Linked DNA regions of Homo sapiens: region 2 is linked to region 1. Evidence: promoter capture Hi-C in 16 types of primary human blood cells and fetal thymus (Javierre and others, 2016). All regions are on one chromosome and are shown on one strand. Each heading gives the region's core, a stretch centred on a gene start or on the middle of the fragment in contact. The rest is flanking DNA. Distances are from core to core; before and after follow the strand shown.

Region 1 (5,256 bases), core at 781-3,280:
GACGAGAAAAGTATAGTTCAGAGAGGTTAAGTGACTTGGCCAAAGTCATACAACTAATAAATGACCAGTTCCTATAACTGACTAGCTATCATTCCATTATACTATAACTCTCAGAGAGTTATTTGGAAGAGATCTTTAAACAGTAACAAACCAGGTGATGGAAAAACTTAATAATTTATTATAGGTGCAATATAAATATTTGTCAACATTCCATGCTGTTTCTTTCCAAAATATGAAGTCAAATAGATGGGCATATTTTCATTTAAGTATGATTTAATTAAATCAGACTAAATTTAATCTTGAACAATGGTCTATGTATTTACAAATGTTTCAGAATGTGAAGACACAAAAAGAATATCTATTAATTTAAAGACATGAGGATCACATTTTTAAACGTTTAATTTCCTCACAAAGCAGTATTACTACATTCTTTATCTTCTTCCTCTCTCACACCCCTCTTCAACCAGACACCCATCTACCATTACTCAAGCCACCACCTGTGTTGTTTAGCTCTGCACTTAACCTTCCCCCACTGTAGAGGACAATGGTCTTAGTGCATACAAGCTGATTGCAAATATTATACTGCTTCAAATCCAAAGTAATGTGTGAGATGGACATGAAAACTTCAAAATTGTTCCCCCACCCCCCCAACCCCCGCAGAACACACGGACAAATGTGGTTAGCAGGGTCTATCTTGTTCTCTGATCACTAACTTCAACAAAGAGGAAGTCCAAAGAGTGCAACTGCCAATGGTAAAAGGAACCCTTTACAAGAAAAAGGAAAGGAAAGGAAACTTCCTTTGTGCATAACAGTATAGCCATTTTTAACAATGGAAAACAGCCTGGGCTACTACTTCTCATGCTTCAACTTAGGAAACGTTTTTAGGTGAAGACTGATTCTGGACCAAAACTTCTTGAACATCCTAAGCTGACTCAGTTGTCCCTTTTCTTTGATTCTGACTTCCCACCCTCCATCATGCTCCTGCTCAGCTAAATCTTTCCAGCCTTACCTGTTGTTCTAACCACAGACCTAGGCTCTCTGCCTTCTGCCTCACTCTTATCCATCCCATACTGACTCCTCTCCTTCCTAAGGCAAAAAAAAAAAAAAAAAGACTTCTTCAAATCTACTCTCCCGTAGTAGATCTGCCTCCCACTACACTCTCATAAACTCAAGTTGAAGCTTCTGTCACAGATTCACAGATTCCTTCAACCTTCTGGGGCATGGAATGTAGCCTGCGCCACCAGCCAGCTCAGTCTCTTCCTGTTTTGGATTCTCCTCTCAGGCCCGCATCTTCCCAGCATCTTCTCTCCTCCCGTGCCCGCTCAGACCATCCTCTAAATGTCCTCAATTCTCAGACACACATCTCCGCCCCTTTCAGGCTCACGGCCCCTCAGAAGTCCTCTCCTCTCAGATCCACTGCTCTTTCTTCCTCTGATGCCTTTGCTTCCCAGACCCACAACGCCCCTCAGACCCACGCGCCCCTCGACCGCCCTCCCCCGTCAGACCTACACCAGTCACCTGGACCCGCCCCAGACCCTGGCTCCCCTCGGGCCACCTCCCTCCTCAGACCCATGCCCCCTTCAGGCCACCTCCCTCCTCAGACTCTCGCCCGCCTCGGACCACCTCACTCCCTCAGACCCACGCCCCCCTCGGCCGCCCTCCTCTCTCAGACCCACACCCCTTACCTGGACCCCCCTCTGACCTAGGCCCCCCTCAGACCACCTCTCCCCTCAGACCCACGCCCCTCACCTGGACCCGCCTCGCGGAGCCGATCTGCGTCTGCTGCACGAAGGGGTTCGGCACCGGCGGCGGGAAGAAGGACGCCTGACGGGGCACCATGGGCGGCCGCAGCCCCACGTTCCCGACGCCGGCACCTGGCACTGTGGCCGCCACTTCCGCCGCCTGGGCGCACCGGCTCATAGTTGAGCCGGGCGTAGAACCCGGCCGAAGCGATCTACGCGGGCGCTGCAGCCAAAACTGAGCCGAAGACCTACTAGAGTCCCAGCCTAGGGCGACGCTGGGGAGCCTCTGCGCAGGCGCTGAAGTTACTTAGACGCCTGCTGCTGCCGCCCTGCCCCTTCGGCTGTGACACGCCCCAGGCTCTGGCCACACCCCCTCAGGCATCTGGCTCCACCCCCTTGGTAATATAGTCCATCCCCTCGGAGGGGAATGTTTTCCTTCCGAGCCAAGACCCTGAAGGGTACCCCAGGATCCCTAACATTCCACAGCGAGACACTAGGCAGAGTTCCCTGCTTTAGGGTCGGACGGACCTGGATTTTCAATCCCTTTTACTGGGCCTGTGACGCTGGCCAAATCACTATCTCTATGAACCTCGGTTGCCTTCCGTAAAATGCAGATAAATGTATTCTCAGATAATCCTAACCTGGATCCAGTAATGCCATTGAGCAACCACTTCCCCTGGGCTGTTCCATTAAGTGAGCTAATATTAATACACCCATGATGGCACTAGGAGTGGAATTTGTTTCACTCAAAACATAATGGACTGACAGGGGAGAGATGGTTCTCCAGAGGAAAACTGAGCTACTATTACCAGAAAAGGCAAAAATTACAGTTGCCCTCCACGCTAGATGAGGAACCTGACCCAGAAAAGGGAAATGTATTGGGCTGTGGCTCCCTTTCACACTGAGGAAGTTCAAGCCTGTTTGGACCTATGTGGGTGCTCGTGGGGGTGGGAGGGCAGGGGTTTGTCCCATTATCTGAGGACAGTTGATCAACCCTGAGTGGCTGAGAGTTAAAGGAAGGAGATGATAATCAACTCATCCCAACTGATCAACTCTTCTCACAGCAGGTAGGAAGGCCAGGATGAAAATCTGAGTCTGAGCCCTGGGGTTCTCCAAAGTTACCCTCTGAATGTCAGAATCTTCCAGCCCTACCACATAGATGTGTGGCCTTGAGTCAGTCACTTAACCTGAGTTTGCTTCCTTGTCTAGGAATGGGAGATTCATTCTAACTCCATAGAATTGTAGCAAGGATTAAATAAAATAATGCATGTGTAGTGTTCATAGAGAAACACTGAAGAAATGGCATGTTTTAAGCATTATTATGTTGTGGAGCCACTGACTTTTCTCTCAGTGTAACAGGGAACATTAATAACAGTGCATTACAGCCATGATAGAAGATTCCCCAGTCTAGGGGGTCTTCAAGTTGGGACTGGCAGACCCTTGAGACTCTTTAGCCAGATACCTGCACAGAAAGATGTCTTTCCAACTGTCAACAACCTAAGCCAGGCCAGGTGCAGTGGCTCACGCCTGTAATCCTAGCACTTTGGGGGCTGAGGAGGGTGGATCCCTTGAGCCCAGGAGTTCGAGACCAGCCTGGGCAACAAAGAGAGACTCCACCATCTCTAAAAAAAATTAAAAATTAGCTGGCTGTGCTGTTGCATGCCTGCAGTCCCAGCTACTCAGGAGGCTGAAGTGGGAGGATTGCTTGAGCCCAGAAGATCAAGTCTGCAGTGAGCTATGATCATGCCATTGCACTCCAGCCTGGGTGACAGAGAAAGACACTGTCTCAAAAAAGAAAAAAAAAGAAGAAGAAGAAACAAAAAGAATCTGAGTCAAGGGGACAGGCCATGGGAGGATAAAAGATAGAAAAGATGGGGCCGAGAGTGGTGGCTCACACCAATAATCCTAGCACTTTGGGAGGCCGAGATGGGTGGATTGCCTGATCTCAGGAGTTCGAGACCAGCCTGGGCAACACGGTGATACCTGTCTCTACCAAAATACAAAACAAATTAGCTGGGTATGGTGGCGTGCACCTGTAATCCCAGCTACTTGGGAGGCTGAGGCAGGAGAATCACTTAAACCTGGGAGGCAGAGGTTACAGTGAGCCGAGATTGCGCCATTGCACTCCAGCCTGGGTGACAGAGTGAGACTCCATCTCAAAAACAGAAAAAAGAGATAGAAACAATGACATCAGGCTCACTGAGGAGGTCACCTGTAGAGTTCACTCCTTACGCACCTTCCTCACCAGCCCCATCATAAGAGGCCAGAAGCAATATATATACTATCAATCAGACTATCGGAGCCAGAAAGGGCCTCAGAAAAACCCCAGGCCTTCAATTTCTGTTCAGCAGTAGCTCCAGAATTTCTATGTAGGAGATTAGGAGTGGGTAGACTGGTAGGAAGGAGTAAGGAGCTTATCCATTAATACCAGCTGTGTTTAGAAGCAAGCACAGTATTTCTCCCTTAGCTGTGTTTACCCAGCGTGGTTTTGGGGGTGGTGGAGGGTAGCAGGAGCGGTTTTGAAGGTGGTGGGGGTGTTTTTGAGGGTGGCGGAGGGTGGTGAGATTCTGGTTTGAGAGCTAAAGCTCCTCTGCTAGGCTATCCTTTGGCCTTGTAGGTCCCTAATAGCTATGGGACCCTGGAAAAATCACTTCTCTTGAGCCATCAGTCTCTTCATCAATAAGATTCAACTAATAATGGCCTTTTTTATTTATGTGGTTGGAAAGGTTAAAATAGGTGACACGTGAAAAGTGCCTTGCACATAGAAAGCACTCTATTAATTGAGGGGGATATTATTGTTACTGTTCATTGTTAGTAGTAGCATTAAAACTGATATGATTGCTAATGAAGAAACAGACTTAAAGAGGAAGCAAACCTCGAACAGATGCCACAATAAAGCAACAAAATTGCTGATTCTTCAGGGCTCTTTCTACAGGACAGAGGGACTAGAGCTTACTCTCCCTGAGGTTCTCTTGCTGTTTACTTTGGAAGCTCTGACCTTTCCAGCAGACACCATCACCTGTGCCCTGCAGGGAGCAGAGATTCGGACTTTTTAAGTTTCCGCTTCTGGCTGGGTCTGTGGCCCTTGTCTAGGCTCTGCTAAAACAGATGGCAAACACGGCCACTCAGTAGGTGTCTTTATTCATACTTGTTGACATTTCCCATGGGGAATGGTTGAAGGGAGGGGCAGGGAGGGCTGAGCGGGAAGCCACGGCTTGGTTTTCCTCCATCCAGTGGAGAAGAGACTCGGTAGGGACATGCTAAGTAGAGTGAACAGGGGAACCATCACTATGTGGGCTGAGATGCACTGTGCAGTGACTTCAGACAACCTGAGTCCTTCTGTCAGGAAATGCAATTTCTAAGTGGAAAAAAAAAACAAGACCCAAAGAAAAAAACAAAGTGCATACAAAGCAAACTGCTAATGTAAGAAAGGTTCTAAGGCAGCCAGCAGTGAAAAGCCAGGGGTCTGGAGTGGCCACCTGGCCATGCCCTGTCCCACTGCCCTGTGCCAGGC
Region 2 (5,256 bases), core at 747-3,246, 160 kb before region 1:
TCAACTGAAGTTGCCTCTTTTATAAACAGCTCTGCAGTGGTTCTCTGGAAACCGAGGCTGGTTGCAAACCCCCTAAAAAGTACTGCTCTGCAAGGCTTGTAACTGCCATACTTGTGTGGTCCTGCTCCATCTCCATGTGTGGCAGTGCCAGCTGCAACCAGCCTCACACAGGGTCCGAGAGTCTCAGAACTGCAAGGCCAGAATCTTATCTTGGAATGCCCTGGCTGCATGGGTGCTGGGCTGGTGAGGGCAGACCTGGAAAAACACAGGCAGGGCATGCCTCATGAGGAGCTCAGTGCCCAGTGCCTGGGAGTCTCCAAAAACCATATGCATGCACACAAATGCACACCTGTGCATACTCATGCAAAATGGACACACACTTTTGCATGTCAACGCACTCACACAACCACATGAGAAAAAGAACTGTCGACCATGAAAGAAACTCTGAACAGTGGCCTTTGGATGAATTTAGTAAGAAAAGCATTAGTCCCATCACCTCTGGCCCAACCACACTGCCTCCCATCCCACTGTTAGAGAGAAACTCTTCTGGGTACAGAAGGGCTCTGGAAGCCTCTGTGCAAATGCCAAGTACCCAGGAAGGGAAGCCCGGGGTCATTAGGTTTAGAGTGGGATGTGCTGGAGCAGCCCCCAGCAGGTGAGGAGGACCCCAGGTAGAGGGCTGGAAAGCCTGGAGGAAGGGTTCAGTGAGGGGTGCAGTGGCCAAGACCTGCTGAGGATCTCGGGGGAGGTGGAGGTAGTGTGGTCAAAGAGGAGCTTCAGGAAGGAGAGAGGCTCCCCTGACACCTAGTTTGTTGAGGACAGGATTCCTCGAACTGTGAATTCTGGCCACACCTTGATATATGCAAGAAGTGCCAATCCACAGAATAGTTCCCTTGATACACACAGCTCAGCTACAGGCTGTCGCTGCTGGTGTCATGCACCAGAGCCCCCAAGAAAACCTTGGTCCACACTTAGGGAAGCTAGATTTGTCCCCCTTCCCCAACACCCCAAGGGTGCCCTAACAGCACAGTAGGCATCAGGAGAAGGTGAAACTTTAGTCAGGAGACAAGGCTGCTCACACTTCGACACATTTAAAGGTGACAAATCAACAACTGTTAAATAAAACATGTTCTGTCTTCCTACTTTGACAAAGAGACCTTTGTAGTAGTTCTATTATAAAGTTCAAGGTTGGAATTCTCAGCTCTTGGAGCTCCAGGCTGGAATGTGGAGGTACAGGGGAAGACCCGTTTGCCCTGCCCCTACTTCCTCCCAGCTCAATCTAGCCATGTCAGGGCTCTTGCACATAGGTGTCCAAGCTATGTCCACCCGCCTTGCAGACACCCCCACCTCCCGCAGCACAGCCCACACCACAAAAGAGGGAACCCAGCAAGATGTTCATGTAGACCCAGAAGGGTGCCTGAGGCTGTTTGGGCAGGGAATTCCACCGTCCGGGTATTGGAGGGTGGTGGGGTATTCGTATGGGGAGTGTGCTGGGTGGGCAGGCACACTTGGCTCCCATGAGATGGAAAGGGGGCAGAGTTGTGCTCTCTGAAGCATGGAGGTAGGGCAGGCCTTCATGCCTGGACCTAAAGATAATCCTGTCCCTCAGCCCTGCTATGTGTAGCTATGTGACTTGTCTAAATGTGCCTTCTCTGAGCCTTAGCTCCCCCTTTGTAAATGCGATAATAATACCTGTGTCACTGGTTTGCTGTGATAATCAGAGATGACAGAGGTGAAGTGCCAGGCACTTAGTGGGTGCTCCGTAAATGGGACCCATGTCTTGTCATTATACTCAAGAGCAGATGTGCAGCAGCTCTGTCCACTGGAAACAGGAAGTAAAGGCTGTCTTGTGTGGTGGAGGGTGGCTGGGCCCTTTGTGGAGCACAGCATGAACGCCAGCTGGAGGCCACACACAGGACTCTGCGGCAGTGCTCTGGGATCCCCAAGTCCCTGTCCCAAGTGGGGCTGGCTACTCTACTCTTGTGTGCAAACAAGAGTGCTGACCATGAGCAAATGCAGGACAAAGGATGCCCCCAGGCCACAGCCAGCCCCATTACCTAGAAAGAATGCCCTGTAGTGCTGCATGAAGGATGGCATGAAGGTAGTGGGAGGGGGATGCATGCAGTGAAGAGATTTAGGGAATGGAAGCACCGGCCAGAGCGGGGGACAGGATACGCCAGGCCAAACCTTAGCTGACCCTAGAAGAGTTCTGAAGCTGAGATGGCCCCTCAGACATTTCCTACTCAGGAACCTCCACGTGTTTGCCTCTCCTGAAGCTCCTGAACCCTGTCCTCTTGGGCCTTCTATGGAGATGTCATTGGATAGGCATGTTTGGCCACCATGATTGAATGGAGTATGATGTAATACTAATAAGCTGAGTGGGAAAGCCCAGCAAGGCCTGTCTGTTCAGATTCTTCTCGGTCTCCCTGTGCAGCATTCCTTCCCCCAGGGCCTGGGGCAGGACTCCTTCTGAAATGGGGGTTTTATGACTCACAATTAGAAAGTGGGTCAGAGAATTTTGTTACTGCCAGCTCCAAGAAAGAAAAGCCAGGGAAAAATCCTACCTTGGAGAGATAAGGGAGCAGATGGAAGGAGGGCAGGAGAAGGTCAAAGAGAGAGAGGTTCTGTTTTCTGAGGCCTAACGTGCCCCAATGTTACAACAAGGGCTATTGGTATTTTGAGCCAGGAACAATAGAACAATAGATAGACAGATGGATAGATAGATAGACAGATAGGTTTCATAGTAGTACACAGAGCTATGGTAAGACCTCAGCTGGAGGGACCCAAGGTGAAGGTGAGGGAGTGCCTTGGTCTGTTTAGCATTGCTATAACAGAATACCTGAGGCTAGGGAATCTATAAAGAAAAGAGGTTTATATGTCTCATGATTCTGGTGACTGGAAAGTTCAAGGTTGGGCAGCTGTATCTGGTGGGGGCCTCTGGCTGCTTCCACTCATGGCAGAAAAGGAAAGGGGATCAGGGGTACAGAGATCACATGGCAAGAGGGGAACCAAGAGAGTGGCGTGAGAACTCACTTACCCTCTCCAAAGGACATTAATCCATTTATAAGGGATCCACTCTCATGACCCAAACACCTCTCACTAGGCCCCTCCTCCCAACACTCCCACACTGGGGTTCAAACTTCAACAGGAGTTTTAGTGGAGACAAACAAACCATATCTAAACCATAGCAGAAAATGTAATAAAGTGTTCCTCTGAGTTCTGTGAGCCACTCTAGCAAATTAATCAAACCCAAGCAAGGGGTGGGGGGAACCCTGATTTATAGACAGTGGGTCAGAAGCACAGTAAAACAACCTGGGGCTCATTATAGGAACACAAAGTGAGGGGCATTCTTGTGGGAATGCCTCAACCTGTGGGATCTGATGCTATCTCCAGGTAGACAGCACCAGAATTGAATTGAATCGGAGGCACTCAGCTGGTGTCTGCTGCAGACTTGATTACTTGCCTGATGTGCTGGGAGAAACCCCCAAACATGTGGTCACAGACGTCTTCTGTGTTGATTGTTGTTGTTGAGTGAAAGACCTGGAAACAGGCCCACTGAGGGAACACACCCACTCCCCTGATGGATTAAACCCAGCTGCTCTAAGTAGAAAAATGGGGGTGGAATTCAGGGAAACTGGCGCCGGGCTACCCCTCCTCATGTGGTAATTCTCCATCTGCTCGTCACTTTGGAGGATCTGGACTTGATTTTTCCTAATAAAGCTGTGGCTTTAGTAAAATCTCTGTGAAGATTCTGGTTTCCATTTCCTCCATCTTAGTCTCTTTAAGAGAAACACATCAGAGGGTTGCTCAGAACTACATCACAGAGGGAAATATGACCCACAAATAACAGAGCAGGACCTCACCTCCCCCATTTGGGATTAATACCTCCAATATTGGAATCAAAAATGACAAACTTTTAGGAGATCTGCAGCATATCATGAGCCCCTTAAAGGCAAGGATTTTCTTTTGCTCATCTCCATATTCCTGGCATATGATAGGCATTTAGTAAATTTTTTTTGGCTAAATAATGGATCTCAGCAGTGACTCACATGAAGGATGCAGCTAATGAAAGCCCTGGGGCCTTTCTCCACTTGTGCTGTGGCCTAATCCTTACTTAGGCAGTTAGGTTTGGGACTGCAGGGCAGGATATAACATTTATCCCTATTAAATCCCAATCTTGTCAGGAACAGCCCCTTTCAGATCCTTTTGACAAGCTTGGAGTAACAAGCCAAACCATGCCAGTGACCTCAGATCAGGGTCCCAGATGAGCACCACATTTCTGCCAAGGGATGTACAGACTTGTCAGCTGAGTGCCACACCAGCTGGCTGGCTCATTGTGCATCTGAGCTGACAATCAGTGTCTGGCTTGGCAAGCCCAGGGTGTAGATAGCCCCCTGCAGCCAGGCCAGATATAAGAGCACTGAGTTTGCAGACTCCTGACCTCTGTAGCAGCTACTGCTTCATACTCAGTATTAAGGATCCCAGATATTTTGGCCACAAGGGCTCCCAAAGGGCTGGGGGTCCCTAAGACTCTGAGCTTCCTTGGGGAGAGGAGAGAGTCCACTGGGGACGCAGAATCACAGAAGGTCATGGGACCCCATGCAGGAATTATAAACCCCATTTACCAGGTGATGAATCTATTTTGAGATAAGGTTAGGCTGTTAGGAAATGGAGCAAAGCCCATCCCCTGATTCCTGAGTCTATCATGCTTGGGCTCCAGACCCAAGTGGGACTATTTTCCAGCCTTATTTCCTTTTATCAATTTCATCTTAGGATGAATTCTGCTACTTCCAAAATCAGGATCCTGCCCCACTCCTAAGTCTAGCATGCAGTTAATATCATTGAACAATAACAAAATACTAATGACTACATTTATGGAGCCCCTATTATGTGACATCATTTCAAGGAGTTTACATATATTGTCTCTGATGCCATCTCACCCTGCAAGAAGGTGCTGTGGTTATTCTCCTCTTCTGTGTAAGGAAACTGAAGCTCAGATCAGCAAAGGTGAGTGATTTGTCTATCGTTACCTTTCTAGCAAAAGTTAGACTCAGACCCTGAACCTAAAGACTATATTTCTCTACAATGCACAGCTCTAAGCTGGCCTCAGGACAGGACTCAAACAGAAGCAGCCATGTGCAAAGGTTAATTCACAGTGGCCACTTCCCTGGAAGAAAGGCAAAAATGAGCACCCAGTCAATCTTCCTGCTCTTCCCCAGGGATCAGCACAGACCAGGATCACAGGTGCAAAGGGAA

Evidence for each region. The method cuts DNA at HindIII sites, captures the fragments that hold promoters and counts their contacts. A CHiCAGO score of 5 or more calls a contact.
Region 2: a fragment that was not itself captured here is called in contact with the fragment with the promoter of LPCAT2 in region 1 in 1 of 17 cell types (monocytes); the score reaches 5.5 in monocytes.

What each region holds. Positions count from the first base shown.
Region 1 is chr16:55,505,846-55,511,101 of GRCh38, reverse strand. It overlaps LPCAT2 (lysophosphatidylcholine acyltransferase 2), which reads right to left and starts at 2,030. Exons shown (of 14, transcript NM_017839.5): 1 at 1,750-2,030. The coding sequence starts at 1,920. It overlaps MMP2 (matrix metallopeptidase 2), which reads right to left. Exons shown (of 13, transcript NM_004530.6): 13 at 4,411-5,256. The HindIII fragment of the contact is 4,685 bases long and covers 1,182-5,256 here.
Region 2 is chr16:55,661,116-55,666,371 of GRCh38, reverse strand. All of the region lies in intron 2 of SLC6A2 (solute carrier family 6 member 2), which reads right to left. Among named protein-coding and RNA genes, the nearest start is that of SLC6A2, 7.8 kb to the right of the region's middle. The HindIII fragment of the contact is 4,440 bases long and covers 1-4,216 here.